Linked DNA regions of Homo sapiens: region 1 is linked to region 2. Evidence: promoter capture Hi-C in 16 types of primary human blood cells and fetal thymus (Javierre and others, 2016). All regions are on one chromosome and are shown on one strand. The core of a region is centred on a gene start or on the middle of the fragment in contact, and the rest is flanking DNA. Distances in the headings are between cores, read along the strand shown.

Evidence for each region. The method cuts DNA at HindIII sites, captures the fragments that hold promoters and counts their contacts. A CHiCAGO score of 5 or more calls a contact.
Region 1: a contact is called between the fragment with the promoter of OR8B4 here and the fragment with the promoter of OR8D2 in region 2, in 1 of 17 cell types (neutrophils). The highest score is 5.7, in neutrophils.

Annotation. Positions count from the first base shown.
Region 1 is chr11:124,423,228-124,426,832 of GRCh38, forward strand. It overlaps OR8B4 (olfactory receptor family 8 subfamily B member 4), which reads right to left and starts at 1,644. Exons shown (of 1, transcript NM_001005196.1): 1 at 715-1,644. The coding sequence starts at 1,644. The coding sequence ends at 715. The HindIII fragment of the contact is 2,701 bases long and covers 106-2,806 here.
Region 2 is chr11:124,318,835-124,321,981 of GRCh38, forward strand. OR8D2 (olfactory receptor family 8 subfamily D member 2) reads right to left here and starts at 1,363. Exons shown (of 1, transcript NM_001002918.1): 1 at 428-1,363. The coding sequence starts at 1,363. The coding sequence ends at 428. All of the region lies in intron 2 of LOC112268069 (a long non-coding RNA gene), which reads left to right. The HindIII fragment of the contact is 6,670 bases long and covers 1-3,147 here.

The sequences.
Region 1 (3,605 bases), core at 394-2,893, 100 kb after region 2:
TGGAGTTCTTCCTTGTTTCTTCTTCCAGCCTGAGTCTCCGGAGCCTAAGAAATTGGCCCAATTACACAGGATCACTTACCCCTGATTACCATTCCAAGGCCCAGAAGCTTTAGAACTTTGAAATAAAAGATTTGGATTTGATTTATCCTTACAGAGCAGATCATAGAAAATTCTTGTGTGAGGGCTTCTTTTATGTACATACATGTATATGAAAAGGAGGGTTTATGATCTTCCTGACCAAGCAACCTCCTGAAGAGCTGGATATATAATCATATTAGCACTGGCACCAAGGTATCTACCATTGATCTTTAATAAGTCTGCTTATGTAACTAAAGAGAAAACACTCCTCAACCTTTATACCACCACCTGCCCCTTGTTCCAGCCAGAAACGTTCTTGCTCAGAAAAACCCATTTAGCCTACCAAGAAAAGAATGGAAGGCATGGAGCCTCATCTTACTCATCTCTTGGGCCTAATACAGAGTTCAGTAAACAAAAGGCATTTCATAGACACTAACTTGCAGGCAGTGAGCCAATTTAATTGTTGCAAAATAATATAGTCCTCAAGGAGAGTATAGGAAAGAGATTTCCAATTTTTAAAAGTGGAGAGGAGACCCTCTTTGAGGAAAAATATTAAAATTCCTCCGCCTATAAATAGAAAGACACTTGAGTATCATGCTTACCGAGAATCGGTTGCCAGTGATATGAAGAGACCCATTAGAAGAGCACTCTCTTCAGGGTTTTGCCCAGGGCAAGTTTATCATCCTTATTCCTCAAACTGTAGATCGAAGGGTTAAGCATGGGAACCACATTGGTGTAAAAGACTGAGGCAAATCTGCCATGGTTCATAGAGCCAGGAAAAGATGTTGTTAAGTAGGTGAATGTCCCTGACCCAAAAAACAGAGCAACAGCAATTATGTGGGAGCCCCATGTGCTAAAGGCTTTGGATCTGCCCTCTGCAGAAGGAATACAGAGGATGTTGGAGAGTATCAAAGCGTAAGAGATGACGATGCTTATGCTGGATAGCATGGTGATTACTCCAACAACAATGAAAAATACCAGCTCACTGACATGGGTGCTGGTGCAGGAGAGCTGCAAGAGGGGGAGAACGTCACACAGATAATGGTCAATGACGTTGGAATCACAGAAGGTCAGTCGCAGCATGCTTCCAGTGTGGGCCATGGCCCCAGCAAACCCTACCACATAGGAACCAAACATCAGCAGAAAGCAGACCCTTGGGGACATGGTGACCATGTAGAGCAGGGGGTTGCAGATGGCCACATAGCGATCATAGGCCATTGATACCAACACATAGCACTCAGAATTGACAAAGAAACAGAAGAAAAATAGCTGAGTCATACATCCCACATAAGAGATGATACTTTCTGAAACAAAGTCATTCAGCATTTTGGGGGTAAACACACAGGAATAACAGAGATCTATAAAGGACAAGTTGAAGAGGAAAAAGTACATGGGGGTGTGAAGGCTAGGATTTATCCCAATTAAGGTGATCAAGCCCAAGTTGCCCACCACAGTGAACACATAGATCCCTAAGAATAGAAGGAAAAGAGGGAGCTGGAGCTCTGGCTGTTCTGATAATCCCACAAGGATAAACTCAGTCACTGAGGAGCTGTTTCTCAGAGTCATTCTCTCTTGGCGAGCTGTCTGGGGAAGCAGAGGGCAAAACACAAAGAGTCATGACAGGCACAAGCATGGCTAAGGGAAGAAGACTCTAGTGGACCAGCCAGTGTGCAGATGCCCTCTCTTCCATCCTCCCTCATCTACACACCTCCCCACCCTGAGGTATTAACAACGTGTCTGTGAGAGGATCTCAGCTCTGCTGGGCCGATCATGAATTCAAGCTAGCATCTGTTACCATGGGCAGCAAGAATTCCGTCTCTGCTTGAGAGATGACGAGGGAGACAACACACCTGAATTGGCTGCCCAGGGACTCTCAGAAAGACACCCTGAGAACCAAGAGTACAACCTGGGCCGCTGCCTCAAGAGCTGAGAGACCAGAGCTCTCAAGGTCACCAGGATGCCCTCCCATTCTCTGCCTCCGTCTCCCAACTAGATAGTGGATTTCCATCTGGAGAGAAAGCCAAGAGTGTTACCTGCTGGCTCTTTACATCCCACCCGCCTCCTCGAAGACCCTCCATTCCATCTCACCTCAGGGTCAGTGTTGAGAGCAGAGACGGGATCCATACTTCCCAGAGCCCTTGGTTGTGGGTTTCAAAGAGACCATCAGGAAAGACAGGATTCGGACCTTCACCTTCCTTCTCCCGGGCCCCACTCAGTGCTGGGCCTTACGCCATCTCTTTTTCCATTAGCCAGAAAGAGAAAATGGTGCTGCTTGTGCAGAAAGCACACAGCCTTGCGTATTACCTCTTTTGACTCCCTTGGTGCTGAGAATCAGAGCTTTTACAGACCCCAGGCTCCAAGGTGCTCAAGGAATAGACCATGGTTTCTGTTTGTGGATTTTCCCAGGTGGTCTTGACAACTTCAGGAAAAAAAACTAGGAACTCTCATTTTGACCAGAACCCCAGCTGTCATATCACAGAGGAATTTAAGCTGCTTGACGATCTCAGGGACCTGATTAGACACAGTTTCCCCTGGGAATTTCTCCAAGATCTGTCTCTATAGGGAAGGAATTGCACTGTCTTTGTTTACAGCCTGGATAACGGTGCTTACCTAGCATCTTGGGAGTGGGGGTTCCACTCAAACTTTCCCTCTACTCCAGGGATTTCATGTTATTCAGTGCTGAGTTTGGGGACTCATTTTTTCCTTTCTCATTAACTCTCAGAGCCTAAGCTTGAATTTAAGAGTGAATAGCCCCAACCTAAGCCACCATCTCCAAATCTTCACAGGGAGCTATGAGAGTAGGACCCCTCAGAAAAGGTCAGATCAGATCTACAGAGAGCACCTCAGATAAAAGGCTTCTTGGACCATGCGCTGCTCAGAACAGAAACCACACCACCTCCACCACAAACACCACCTACTCGCAGCTCTAATAAGGGCCGCAGACAGGCCTTTACTATATATGAAGAGATTAAAATATCACAACACATATGCTAGAAAGCACACACACACACACACACACACACACACACACACACACACACCCCTACACAGAGTTACTCTCTAGGCATGCAGGCTTAAGGTATAATGGGAGATGGATGTAAGGGTCTAATCCTGCCATTATTCAGATGACAAAGCTGCTCTCCATATGATCTGCTAGATGAATATTTTAAGAAAAATTCAAAGACATGGGAGCATCTGCATTTGTAAGTTTCACTAAGGCTACCTAAAATAATCCCAGTTCGCCTGGGACAGTCCTGACTTACACTCATTATCTCTGTATAATTATTAATAGCATACCCTTTCACTCTCAGAAGTGTCTGGACTTGGACAACAAATTGTGTATACTAACTAAAAGTAAGTAGGCATATTTACCTAAAGACATGCCAAGATTGTGCACTGCAGCGTTGTCCTTAACAGCCACAAACTGAAATCACCCCATCTGTCAGCCAACTGTAGACCGGATAATAAATGGTAGGATGTTAATAAAATAGAATTCCATATAGCCATGAAAGATAATGACATAGATA
Region 2 (3,147 bases), core at 113-2,612:
TTAAAAGTCTTTGTGAATCATGCTCTGTCATCCATTAAATCAACTATTTCAAGGCTGAGGATCGTGACTCAGGCTTCTAATTCCAGCACATTGGGAGGCCAAGTTTGGAGGATTACTTGAGGCCAGAAGTTCAAGACCAGCCTGGGCTTTCAAAAGTAATATGTTCAATAAATTGTTTTTAATGTTTATTTGCCCTTCCTCTTCTGTCATCTCCCATTTCTCTAATACATTTTCGAAGATTATATTGACCATCAGAAAATTTTGTTTCATAATCTCCAAAAATGTCTTAATCATTCTCTAATATAAAATATACATTTTTAAGTGATGATAATTTTTCTCTCTCCGAGAGAGACAGAAACTTACAAAGATCCTATAACAACTTTTTATATGGTTTATTTTTTCTGGCTGCCAATGAGAACCCTCTTTGTCAGGATGACTGCCTTCCCCTAGTCATCTTCTTCAGTGCATTTTTCACATCCTTGTTCCTCAGGCTATAGATTAGAGGATTCAGCATGGGGATTATTGTGATGTAGAACACAGAAGACACCTTCTCTTTTTCCATAGTAGTGCTGGAAGGGGGCTTGAAATACATGAATGTTATAGACCCAAAAAAGATGCCCACAGCCAAGAGATGGGAGCTACAAGTGCCAAAGGCTTTGGATTGCCCCTCAGTGGAATGAATACCAAGGATACTAGAGAAAATGAAAGCATAAGAGATAAGGACCGCCAGTGTAGTTGCTAAGGTATTAACTCCTCCAATAATGAACAGCAGAATCTCATTGATGTGGGTGCTGGAGCAAGACAGAGTCAATAAGGGGAGAATATCACAAAAATAATGACTGACCGTATGAGACCTACAGAATGACAACACTGACATGCGGGTAGTATGGACTGTGGCCCACAGAAAACCCAGTGAGTATACCACAGCCATCATTATGGAACAGACCCTGTGGGACATGACAATATTGTAAAGCAGTGGGCGACAGATAGCAACATAACGGTCATATTCCATGGCTGTCAGAAGGTAGCCTTCTGCAATTACAAAAATAAGGAAGAAATAAAGTTGAGTAATGCATTCCAGAAAGGAGATAATGTTCTCCTCTGGAACAAAGTTCACCAGCATCTTAGGGGTAATGACAGAGGAGTAGCAGAGATCAATGAAAGACAAATGACTGAGAAAATAATACACTGGAGGGTAAAGTTGAGAACTGAGAGCAATTAAGAAGATCATGCCCAGGTTCCCCACCACTGTGACCACATATATTCCAAGGAACAGGAGGAAGAGTGGCAGTTGAAGTTCTGGGCGTTGTGTCAAGCCTGCCAGGATAAACTCAGCCCCTGAAGAATGGTTTGAAGTAGCCATGTCTTTTAAGGTATTATGTGTAATAAGAAATAAGAGAAAAGAGAGACATTAGATTTATTTTCTGATTCCCAAAGCAGAATGACATGCCCCATGTTGGTTGCTTCCATTCCTGAGAGCCTCATCTGTCCCATGATTGCCTCTTTTCAGGGACCTCTTACAAGATCAAGGGCAAATATTATGAGTATAACCAAGAACCTTGATTTCACCCAAAACCCTGTTGAATGCTCCTCTTTTAGTAAGAGTCCTCCCATTTTGTTTCCAGGCTTATGCCCATAATTACCTCACTGCTGGAGGAAGCACAAACTTTCCAAATCTAATTAGTTTGTCATTGCTACCATTAAAACAACACTGCTTACCTTCTTTATCTGAGCATATGCCAATAGAACCTTCAGACTTTGTTACAACATGGCTTCTAATCCAGCTCTGATGATATAAAAGTAGTCCATTTCAGTTTCCTTACCCATCAACATGAATCAACATAATTAGCATTTGCTAAAACTAGGAAATAAGAAACATAAAAGACGTCTATAAAGAGACCTTAGTACAAAAAAAAAAAGTATGGAAATGGTTCTAATCAATTCTGACCCTCATTAGCTCACTTCTGTTCTTTGAATGGAAAACTTGAGTGGGCCAGGAGATTCTTGTACTCAGTGTGGATGTGGTTGACAGAAATGTTGTGCCAAGGGCTATCCTGAGATTCTAGTTTAGATCTTTCCTGTTCCAGAAACAGCAAAGAAGCAAAGAAGTAAGGCTGACTTTCAGGTGTAAGACCTGAACCATCAGCAACTCAGCGCTTCCCTCCTTGGCCCTTTCCTGCTATCCATTATTCATGGCCAAACTCTCACTGACCTTTCTCTTTCAAAGCTGTGAGATCTGAACTGGAGATTTCTTATTCCCTGACTTCGTTTCCCCTAAAGTTTAAGCAAAGGATTCAGGGTGTGTTGCTTTCAGCTGAAACACTGTATATTACCTAAGACATCAGGTTTCATAATTTTTTTCCAAAGTGAGAAAAAATGTCAAGGGAGGAAAAACTCCATACATAGAGTGAGATGTTGTTTGCTTTTATTTTGCATAAAAACATATTTTTATGATCACAAACAAAAATTTATAAAAATTTGCTTCTACAGTGTTTTAAGGGTACTCAATATGTATATCGATTTAAAAGCTGACAGGTGGGGTGTTATCTCCAAGAGCACTTGAGAAGACAGCCATGTTTCTGAATTAGGGGAATTAGAGAATACTCTAAGAGAAAGAGAATCAGAGTTACCAGAATGCAACTCTAACAAGCCCTGTTACGGGAAGTTCAGGAATTCTAGATTTTTAGCCTTACTTGGAAAAATATTCTACCAAATGACTGAATTAGCCAAAAAGAGAATTTGTTGAAGAAAAATAGCAGAGAGCTTATTTAGAGAGAGACAGTACACTCTGGAAAGGTGAGACAGAGCTGGCTGCTGAAGGGGAGTGAGCCAGCAGCAGCTTGAGAGTTCTGCACTGGGTTTTTGAGATGATGTCCGACACTTTCTTGAAGTTCCCACCTCTGTCGTGAGCCTCTGCCTTTTCCTTTGTCCAGGTTCCTGCTTCTGCCTTAAGTCCCCTTCTCTTCCCTGCCTAGTTCCCATGCCAGGCTTGTGGAACCCTCCCTTACTATTGGCTGATGTGCATGCATGGACCCTGTGTTGGATATGAATCCTGCCTAACAGCCGCATTGCCACCCAAGGGAGGCTGCTTAATAATAGGTCTAGTGATTGAAGCACATTCTTTCCTATATCCGTAACATTTCTATA